Linked DNA regions of Homo sapiens: regions 1 and 2 are each linked to region 3. Evidence: promoter capture Hi-C in human tissues and cell types (Jung and others, 2019). All regions are on one chromosome and are shown on one strand. Each heading gives the region's core, a stretch centred on a gene start or on the middle of the fragment in contact. The rest is flanking DNA. Distances are from core to core; before and after follow the strand shown.

The links. The method cuts DNA at HindIII sites, captures the fragments that hold promoters and counts their contacts. A contact is called where the count stands out against the background at its distance.
Region 1: the fragment with the promoter of KCNAB3 here is called in contact with the fragment with the promoter of AURKB in region 3 in 1 of the 25 tissues and cell types used here (adrenal gland).
Region 2: a contact is called between a fragment that was not itself captured here and the fragment with the promoter of AURKB in region 3, in 1 of the 25 tissues and cell types used here (thymus).

Annotation. Positions count from the first base shown.
Region 1 is chr17:7,928,027-7,931,394 of GRCh38, forward strand. KCNAB3 (potassium voltage-gated channel subfamily A regulatory beta subunit 3) reads right to left here and starts at 1,830. Exons shown (of 14, transcript NM_004732.4): 1 at 1,168-1,830. The coding sequence starts at 1,409. It overlaps TRAPPC1 (trafficking protein particle complex subunit 1), which reads right to left. Exons shown (of 4, transcript NM_021210.5): 3 at 2,985-3,123; 4 at 2,323-2,708. The coding sequence ends at 2,580. The HindIII fragment of the contact is 19,988 bases long and covers 1-3,368 here.
Region 2 is chr17:7,870,333-7,873,656 of GRCh38, forward strand. It overlaps a transcript of NAA38 not described here. Among named protein-coding and RNA genes, the nearest start is that of CYB5D1, 14 kb to the left of the region's middle. The HindIII fragment of the contact is 4,268 bases long and covers 1-3,324 here.
Region 3 is chr17:8,208,940-8,212,681 of GRCh38, forward strand. AURKB (aurora kinase B) reads right to left here and starts at 1,636. Exons shown (of 9, transcript NM_004217.4): 1 at 1,591-1,636; 2 at 1,238-1,310. The coding sequence starts at 1,285. RefSeq lists enhancers at 868-1,527, 1,089-1,138. The HindIII fragment of the contact is 18,109 bases long and covers 1-3,742 here.

The DNA.
Region 1 (3,368 bases), core at 580-3,079, 280 kb before region 3:
CCATATGTGACTGTTCCTCTGGAGCCACTGTCCAGAGTCTCCATTCCCTCTTATCACATTGAAGACGTGCAGTCTGGTTTGTCCTTCTTCTGGGGTCTTGTCTGTGTTTGAGTCATCTGTGGGTTGTGTGCAGTGAGGGGCTGGGAGGAATTTTGTTTGATTGTGGTGAGTTTGTGAGACCAGGCCCTCAGGCAGAGTGCTGTGCCAAATGGTAGATGGCAGGTTGGAAGAGGTAAACCAAGTCAAGTTCAGGCATTCAGACAGACAGGGGTCCCTGGCTAGGCTAGGCAGATGGGCCTGGAGGAAAGGCAGATTGAGGACCTGGGGGGAGGGGGGAGAGTAAGACAGAAAAGCCTAGTTCTCCCTCTCCACTCCCTCTGTTCCTATTGACTTGTGAAGACTGTCTCTGAACCAGTGAGCCCCCTCATCCTCCCAAAGCCCCCAACCCAGGTGTCAGCTCAGCTTTCCAATCAGGGCCACCATATAGAGGGGATCAGATTCCTCAGGTGACAAAGCAGGTCAGATCAGTGACCTCAGCTCACTCCCAAGCAGGAGCCCCTCCTCTACCCCCTACTTCAGGTTCTGAGCTTCTGGTCTGGCAGTCCTCTGAGATAAAGTCAGTTACATTTCAGTCTACCCAGACCCTGTCCCTCAGCATGGAGATGAAAAATGTGGTCCATCCTTCCCACCGGCCCCACTCCCCTTGCACCCAAGAAAGGTCGCAGAAGACCTAGCCTTTGGGGCAGGCAGGGGCAGTATCTGGGTCAGGCACCCCGAGCAGGCCAGAGTGAGAAGCTGATTCCCTCCCTCCACTCCCCAGGACACGGACCCAAGGACACTCCACTGGAGGAGGCATAGCCTGGAGATCCGTGTAGCGTGGAGATCCATGCATCCCTGACCTTCCCAGGGGTAAGGAGGGAAGCTCAGGGGCATCCCCTGGGTCTGACAGGACCCAGTCAACCTTGGTAAACTTGATTCTCGTAGTCAGGGGTATCGACAGAAACCAAGAGAGGGACAAAGTGAGGGAGTGCCAGAGACAGAAAGAAGAGATGGAAAGAAGGGAGACCTACTTAGTGAAGTTTGAAGGGGTCTTGGCGGCCATCTCAAGCAGTCTCAGGGGTCCCGAAAGGAAAGCGGAAGGGGTGGGCTGCCCGGCCACCCCCATACCTGTATTTCATGCCAGTGCCTCGGCCGGTGCTCTCTCGGAGGGCCCCAGCGGGCGCTGGGGGTCGGGGAACCAGTGCAGCTCGGGCCTTGGGGCCAGACCCTCCACCCCCCGGAGGATTCCCGTGCCCCCCGCCGGCCGGCCCACCATTACCGCCCCCGGGGCCCGGCCGGGGTCCACACAGACGGTCCTCACTGCTCCGGCTGCGAAGGTTCTGCTCGGTACACGCGATAGACACCTGCATGCTGGCTGGCCGAGGCGGGGGAGGGGGCTCCGAGGGGACGGGAGGGGGGAGCAGGGAAGCCCGAGGGCTGACGACCGGGGGCGTAGTGGGGCGAACCCCGGCAGAGCGGGAAGGCTGAGGAGGCTGCGGCGGGAGCCGCCAGGCAGGATCGGGCCCGCGGGGGCGGGCTGCTGGAGGTCGCGAGGTTTGCGGCGGGAGGGAAGAAACGTGGGGGGCGCCAGGAGTGGAGATATTCAGTTACGGGGGACACAGGAGCAAGGATTAGGAGGGGGAAATGGATGAGGGTAAAGGTCGAGGATGAGGTAAAGGTCTCGGAGGATAAGGACCCAGGGGGAAGCGGGGCGGGAGAGAGATGCCACTTCAGCGCGAACCGCTGCGGGACCCGCTGGGCTCCCAGCCGCGTCGGCAGCGGGCCCAGCTCATCAGCATGCAGGCACCGCCTCCTCATCTGCATAGAGCCGCCCTCCTCTCAGCCAAACCTGCCGCTCATCTGCATAAGCCCCGCCTGCTGAAGGCTCTGCAGCTTGAATATTTTCTGAGCGGAATTGGGGAGGATGGCTCCTGCACCCTCTGGGACCCAAGGGCTGTCAGGCTTCCCCCGGCCCAGTGATTCTCAATCGGGAGGGAATGTATCTCCCAGCGTACTTTCGGCAAGGTTTGGAGATATTTTTGATTTCATGCCTGTGCTATCAGCATCTAGTGGGTGGTGGCCAGGGATGCTAAAATCCTACAAAGCACAGGACGGTCCCCACAATAAAGAATTATCCAGCTCAAAGCATCAATATTCCCACGGTTGAGAAACCCATCCGCAAAGCCACTTCGTGGCCCTCCAGGGGGTGTGGCTGCCCTACTTTCCACCTTCATGCGTGGGGCAGGACTGAGAGGGCCCTCAAACCAACACGCTCAGGCCGCAGAGAGTGACAAAAAGTTTATTCTGTGCTTCTCGCAGCATTAGGCAGGGGATAAAACTGGAGAGAGGGCCTGGTGTGGAGGTGGAGGGACTCTGTGGGCTTCACTCTGGTAGGAGGAGAGCATCAGGGCAGGCCTTTAGGCTGTTGCTCTGGGCAGGGGGTGGGGGTGCGGGGGCTTACAGTGGGGGCCCTTAGTTGGCACAGGTTCGGAAGGGCCCCAGGCAGACATGAATTCTCCTGAGACTTGAGGTAGGTTGCTTCAGCCAGCCCGGGCGGAGAAGAAGGGCAGAGAGCGAACATAGGAGTCCAGTCGGGAGCGAAAGAGCTCACTTTGCACAGTTTGGCCCAGCGGGCACAGGGGATTCTTCACCACCAGCTCCACATACAGCTATGGAAAGGGAAGATGTTAGAGCCAGGCTTTGGATACTTCTGGTTTTTAGCCCCAAACCTTGTATAACCTCAGGGGTGTGTGAATGCACAAGGAATAAGGGCTGGAAGGCAAGCCCTCTCTGAGGAGAAAGTGGTGGTGGGAGTTAAGAACCTAAGGGCCCCTGAGAAAACTCTTGAGTTGAGCAAACATATAGTAGGATTGGGGCAGGGGAGATGAGGGAGTCTTGGGGTTCTGAAGAGCTCTGGGGGATGGGTCCCTGGGGCTGGCACTGACCGCACTGTAGATGTGGTGCAGCACATCTCGGATGGGTCCCACGCCCAAGTCAGTATTCATGACAACTTTGATCCCAGTGGGCGTCTCGTAGTAATGGAGTTTGTAACGGCTAGTTTGGAAGGCCAGGAAGCCATCCTTCCTGCAGAGATGAGGAGGGTGTTAAAGAATGGGAGCAGAATCTCTCCCAAAGAGACACTTCTGATCCCCGCAAACATCGACTCCCTCTTTATCTAAACATATCCTTTGTAGAAGCCTGGTTGAGTAAAGACATCGCCCATCGTCACCCCTCAATTTAGCCCCCACCAACTTCTCTACTTTCAGACCCTCCCCACCCCCACTCCTGCCAGCTCCAGCACTCTCGCTCCGGACTCAGCCTCTCTTAAG
Region 2 (3,324 bases), core at 339-2,838, 340 kb before region 3:
TACAACAATTTTAGGCTTACATCTTCCTCCTTCTGATTAAGATGATATTCCTTACTCAGTGAGAGCAAGGAAATGGATTTAGCTAAAAGGCAGCAATAGAAGGATGAGCAGACCAGATAAAATCTTTTAATCAATTAAAAAACAAAAAATCTTTTAATCGAAAAGATATATTGCAGTATTTGGGTTCTTTATTAGGTACTGGAGGTACAGAGAACTATTCCATAGCTCAGAAGTTGAGTTACTTCTATTTTAAAATTTATTTATTTTGGCCAGGCACGGTGGCTCACGCCTGTAATCCCAGCACTCTGGGTGGCCGAGGTGGGCAGATCACCTGAGGTCAGGAGTTCAAGACCAGCCTGGCCAACATGGTGAAACCCGGTCTCTACTAAAAAAAATACACAAAAATTAGCCCAGTGCAGTGGTGCACGCCTGTAATCCCAGCTACTCGGGAGGCTGAGGCAGGAGAATTGCTTGAACCTGGGAGGTGGAGGTTTCGGTGAGCCGAGATCGTGTCACTACACTCCAGCTTGGGGGCGACAGAGCAAGACTCCACCTCAAAAAAAAAAAAAAAAATTGTAGAAACGGGGTCTCACTATGTTGCCCAGGCTGATCTTGAACTCCTGGGCTCAAGTGATCCACCCACCCCAGCTTCCCAAAGTGTGGAGATTACAGGTGTGAACCACCACACCCAACCAGAAATTATTTTTCTAAAAAGATGCCACACCATCATATCGAGCTAAGCACATCTAGAAACAAATTCATTATGGCCTCTTAAAGCCAGCTTCTTTCTCAATTGCTATTAACAATGTCCAATTCTTGAGCCATCACATCATCTAATTTTCTTTTTTCAGGTCTACTGTGGTCCATGAGTTTAGGCATAAATGCCCACCTCTCAATAGCTCTGACCTTGAGCAAGATATTTAACCTCCCTTTGTCTGTTTTCTCATCTGTAAAATGAGTATTAGGATACTTTCTACTTTATAAGGTTATTGAAAGGAGTGAGTGAGTTAGTACATATTAAGTACTTAGTTCCTGGATGCAGAGTAAAACTCAATAAAAGTCAGCAATCATCATCCTATTGTTCATCTTTTGTACATATACTTTACTACTTTTGTATTTTTTTTCTATTGGTCTTTTTCTTATTGTTGATTTCTATGACATCTTTATTTCATCAAGAATACAAACACTAGCTCGCTATCTTCCTTTATACCCCCTTACTCCTGCTGTAATACAATACTGGAGTAATCCTGGAGCCAGTACCCGACCCCAGCAGCTTCTTGATCACTGAAGAAATAGGAAGTAGATCTCTGGTGGGCCAGGTCTAAAACGTTCTTCTTTCTTTGAGGTGGAGTCACTCTGTCGCCCAGGCTGGAGTGCAGTGGTGCAATCTTGGCTCATTGCAACCTCCGCCTCCCGAGTTCAAGCAATTCTCCTGCCTCAGCTTTCCGAGTAGCTGGGAATACAAGCACGCACCATGATGCCTGGCTATTTTTTGTATTTTTAGTAGTGATGGGGTTTCACCACGTTGGCCAGGCTGGTCTCGAACTCCTGACCTCAAGTGACCCACCCACCTCGGCTTCCCAAAGTGCTGGGATGGCAGGCGTGAGCCACCAAGCCTGTCCTTACAATCTTCTTGTCACTCTGGAAACCCTGTCTGTAGTTCTTCTTTGGCCCTTCCAATAATTTTGTAAGCCCTGGTTTCCTGGATAAAGTATCTTTCTGAGCTAGAGTAGTTTCTGTTATCTCTGAGCTCTATTAGAGCACACAGTATTTACTGAATAAAATGGTCTGTCATTAATGGCACAAATATTTTCCTAGCTAGTCTTTTAACTTTATGTTTTCTTACACAGTAAAATTTAGTTTCATTGAGTTAAATCTATCCACGTTTTCCTTTAAAGCATCCACGTTGATGCTTGTTGTACGCTTAAGGCCTTTTTCACCCCCAAGATCAGGAAAATATTCACCCACACTTTTTATATCTCATTCTAGTTCTCTAAAAAATTTTTTGGTCTTGCTGAATTGAGCAGAATTACATTTTTTGTTTTGTTTTGTTTTTTGAGACGGAGTCGCTCTGTTGCCCAGGCTGGAGTGCAGTGGCACAATCTTGGCTCACTGCAACCTCCGCGTTCAGGTGATTCTCCTGCCTTAGCCTCCTGAGTAGCTGGGATTGCAGGCATGCGCCACCACGCCCGGCTAATTTTTGTATTTTTAATAGAGACGGGGTTTCACCATGTCGGTCAGGCTGGTCTTGAACTCCTGACCTTGTGATCCGCCCACCTCGGCCTCGCAAAGTGCTGGGATTATAGGCCTGAGCCGCTGTGCCCGGGCAATTTTTGTTTTTAATGTCACTATTTAATCCATCTGAAAACTACTTTAGTAAATGGTAAGGATCTACCTTTTATATTTTCACAAATAGTTTTCCATTTATCAATTATGCATCATTATTTATCAATAATCCTTTGCCCCACTGATTTAAAGTATCACCTTTGCCATATATTAAACACTTGAAGCAGTCAACAGGTATTTCCAGGGTGCCTAATGTGTGCCTGGCCGTGTGCTAGACTGATACGACAGTGGAGAAGGGTGACAGGGCCCCTCCTCTCTGGAGCCTAATGAGAAAGATAAAGGATAATATGGTAGCACATAGGAGGAGCACCTATTATAAGCTTGGAGAGTCAGGGGAGTTTAGTGCATGCCTGCTTACTGTGTGTCAAACACAGTACTAACGACCTTAAAAGGGTAATTCCATTGACTTGGTAATATTAGGGCTTCACAAAAAGACTTATATGTTGCCATTTTAGTTGAAGAAACTGAAACTCTGAGAAGTGGAAGCCGCATATGAACCCAGACCTGTCTCCCAAGCCCAGGTTCTTAAGTACCATGGCTGACCACTAATCCAGACAGCACTGCCTCTTTGAACAGGGACTGACAAGGAGGAGCCAGAGAGGCAAGGGAAAAACCAGGAATGCGAAACTACAGACGTCAAGCAAATTCTTTTTTTCAAAAAGGGGGTGGTCAAGTGAAGAACTAAGAACATCCTCTGATTTTCAGCAACCAGGAGGTTGTTGGTAATTTGGTGAAAGCAGCTGTGGTGGGGGCAGAGGGCTGGAAAATGAGTAGGGAAGTAGACACTGAGGGCAGTTAATGCTTTCAAGAGGCTTGGCTGTGAATGGACACAGTGCGGTAAGGTGGCAGCTAAAGGGGTCCAGAGTATTTCTTTCAAAGATAAGGAGATTTGAGCACATTTTAATGTGACTGGGAAAGAGCAAGTGGAATCGGAAATAAAGGACTGAGTTAGAGGATCGCTGCTAACCATTAGTCCCT
Region 3 (3,742 bases), core at 386-2,885:
TTTACACTTTTGCAAGAACAGGCTTTAAGGACACTAAGAGCTACCCTGATGGCCCTGGACCACTTCTCACTTTCAACTTCTTCATTTTTTTTTTTTTTTGAGATGGAGTCTCGCTCTATTACCCAGGCTGGAGTGCAATGGTGCCATCTCGGCTCACTGCAACCTCCACCTCCCAGGTTCAGGCAATTCTCCTGCCTCGGCCTCCTGAGTAGGTGGGATTACAGGCACATGCCTGGCTAATTTTTGTATTTTTAGTAGAGACGGGGTTTTACCATGTTGGCCAGGCTGGTCTCGAACTCCTGACCTCAGGTGATCCACCTGCCTCAGCCTCCCAGTGCTGGGATTACAGGCGTGAGCCACCTACCTGGCCTCACTTTCAACTCTCAAAATAATAGGTACATTTTCTTTTAGGAGTGACTAAGGTAAAAGTGACAATGGTTTCTCATTCAGACTCCATTCCTGACAGCCTCACTCAGTGCTCCATGAGGGAGGGAGCTGATGTACAAGGGAACAGACAGACTCTCCAGGAAGCAAGAGCTCCAAAAACAGGGAGCAAAGCCTGTGCAGGGCCCCTTCCTTCTTCTGCAGCCAAGAGAAGAAAGCCCCTAGGCCCCAAATAGTGATATTGGTACCAATCTACAAATAAGCAAGTTGAATAAAATACAGTCCAGAAATAGACCCACATATATGTGGGAATTTATATATATAATAAAGGTGGCATTTCAAATCAGAGAGGAGGCCCTTCAATGAAATCTGTCTGGACCATTGGGAAATAAGTCAATTTAGATCCATTTAGATTCTTACCTCAATTTAGTCATTAATTCCAAATTGTAATTTAGACTTGCCCTGGGCCTTTTAAACTGTAACTTTATATCCTTTTAGAGTCTATTTCTATTTGCTGTCTAGTTTTTTTTTTTTCAGGATATGGATTGGGAATCATGGCCTGAAGGCCAGGCCCTGCCTGCTCAGTCCCAGATATCATTTGTATGTGACGAGCCCTGCAGAGGTCCTCACCAGCTGGGAGTCACTGGCTGGTCAGATTCACGTTGGCAGCACCTGACAGGATGTGGCTACAAATGACCAGAGCGGGTTCTGTCGTCAAACTTGGGACCCGTACTTTGGAGCATAACGGGGAAGAAAGTGCTTAAAGGATTGCTCATTGCAGGATCTCAAGTTTCCCAGCAGGAACTCGCCATGCGGGGTCATGGGGGCGCAGGGACGGAGGGAAGGGCCTTACCGTCTGTCGGCCGTAGGGCCAGGGGTAGGAGTTCTCCTTCTGGGCCATCCTTAGAGAGAAAGGGGGAGGAGAGCTGGGCGGAGAAGGGAAACAGCCGTGAGAAGCAGAGAAAAAGAGAGAGAGAGGGAGGGGTTGGACCGATCGAGCCGGAAGCGCTAGCCCGAGCTGGTAAAAGGGAGCAGGTCAGCACACTAGCCCCAATCTGGGCGCTGGTCTCACCGCCCCCGCCCTGCTATCGTCCCTACCTCCTTCCAGCCCTGCGGCGTGCGCGCAGGCCAGCCCAACGGACCCTCTGATCTACCTGATCATCTGCCCACTCCCGGCGCAAGGCCTGCGACAGGAGGCCAGCTCACCTGGGGTCCAAGGCACTGCTACTCTCCCGGCCGCCCGCAAACAACTGAATCTGCCACGCCGCGCCCTGGCCAAGGACTTTTCAAATCTCCCGCCCCGGCCCCATTGGGCAAGCTCGTCGCCCATGCCTAGTTCCCATTGGCTCGATGTCCTGTGACGTAAGTCATGGGAACCCAATGGAAGAGGCGGAATGAGAAGGGCTCACGCTTGGCTTCCAGTTTAGGAAAGTTTCCCCAAATTCCCCCAGTGAATTATCTTGCTTTTTCTTTTCTTTTTTTTTTTCCTTTTTTGAGACAGGTCTCTCTCTGTCGCTCAGGCTGGAGTATAATGGTGCTATCTGGGCTTGCTGCAACCTCTGCCTCCCGGGTTCAAGCGATTCTCGTGCCTCAGCCACCCGAGTAGCTGGGATTACAAGCGCCCGCCACCACGCCTGGCTAATTTTTGTATTTTTATTAGAGACGGGTTTTCGCTGTGTTGGCCAATCTGGTCTCGAACTCCTGTCCTCAGGTGATCCACCCGCCTCGGCTTCCCAAAATGCTGGGATTACAGGCGTGAGCCACCGTGCCCGGCCTTCTTCTTTTTATAAAAAAAATTAAATCTTTAATGTAACTGGAGTTTATCCTTATGCATGTATGAGCTGGGGTCTAACTTCTCTGCCCGATGGAGCGCCAGTTATGTCAACACCATTTGTTAAACAAACTGCCCCAACAGAATTTAAATGCTGCCCTTGATATATAATGTTAGCATATTTACTTGTGTCTATTTCTAGACTTTGTATTCCGTTGTTTGCTCATTTGCCTGTGTGTTTATTCTTGTGTCATTACTATGTCGTTCTTAAAAGTTCTGACATTCCTGGGAGGAGTTTTTCCACCAATAGACCTTTCGTTGCAAGATCTCTGTTAGCTGCCGTGTTGTTTGGGCCCACTTTCATTTTTCCTCCTTCCTGCCACACTTCCTTCTTTTCTGCTCTTCCTAACCCTCAGATTTCATTACTGGGTTAAATAAATACATTTTTGGGCCTTCTATGAAATAACCAGTGGATATTTATTAAGTATGTACTGTCCAGCACTCTTCTCCTTTCTTCTAACACTCTATTTTTCCTTTAGGGGACCACCTGTCTCTCCAGTCTATGCAGTCGGTTTCTGTAGTAGTTTCTGTTGCTGACAACCCCAAATCCCTAGGTTGATGAAGACCTATTTAAATCTCACTTTTTTTTTTTTTTTTGAGATGAAGATTCGCTGTGTTGCCCAGGCTGGAGTGCAATGGCACAATCTCAGCTCACCACAACCTCCTCCTCCAGGGTGCAACTGATTCTCCTGTCTCAGCCTCCCGAGTACCTAGGATTATAGGTGCATGTGACCACGCCCGGCTAATTTTTGTATTTTTAGTAGAGACGGGGTTTCATCACATTGCTCAGGCTGGCCTCAGGTGATCCGCCCGCCTTGGTCTCCCAAAGTGCTTGGATTACAGGCGTGAGCCACTGCGCCCAGCTTTATTCCCACTTCTGAAAGCACTTAGAGTTTTGAGGATTTGAGAAGGAAACTGACTTCATTGCAGGTCCAGAAATGAGCCCCAATTAACTTATACTAATCAATACCTTTTATTCCAGATTATGGTTATTGGATCAGGCATAAGCCTGTGATTTAAGTGGGCCAGCTAGTGGGAATCAGTTTCTTGCTCAGAATGCTGGGCAGCTCAAGGAAACACTTAACGTTTACTGGTTTATCATAAAGTGTATTACAAATGATATAGATGAAAAGATGTATAGGGCAAGGTATGGAGGAAGAGATTTCTGGAAGTGAGCAGGGAAGCATGCAGCCCTCATTGCTGCTTCTAGTGCTACTGAAGGAAGCAGCTTGACATTGAAGCCTAACATTGCAGAAGGCAGAAGAGAGGCCTGGAAAGAACTTCAGGACTTGATGACATTGTTGAGCCTCTACATGCCTACGTTAGCACTTTTCTTACATGAACAATAGAGAAGATTATTATTCAGCTAATATCCTTTCTGAATGCATTCTAAATGCTATTTGCTGTTTAAGCATATTGTGTAGAAAAAACAAACCATGGCTAGGCTTGGCGGCTCACGCCTGTAATCCCAGCACTTTGGGAGGCTAAGGCGGCTGTATCACTTGAGCCCAGGAGTTTAAGATCAGC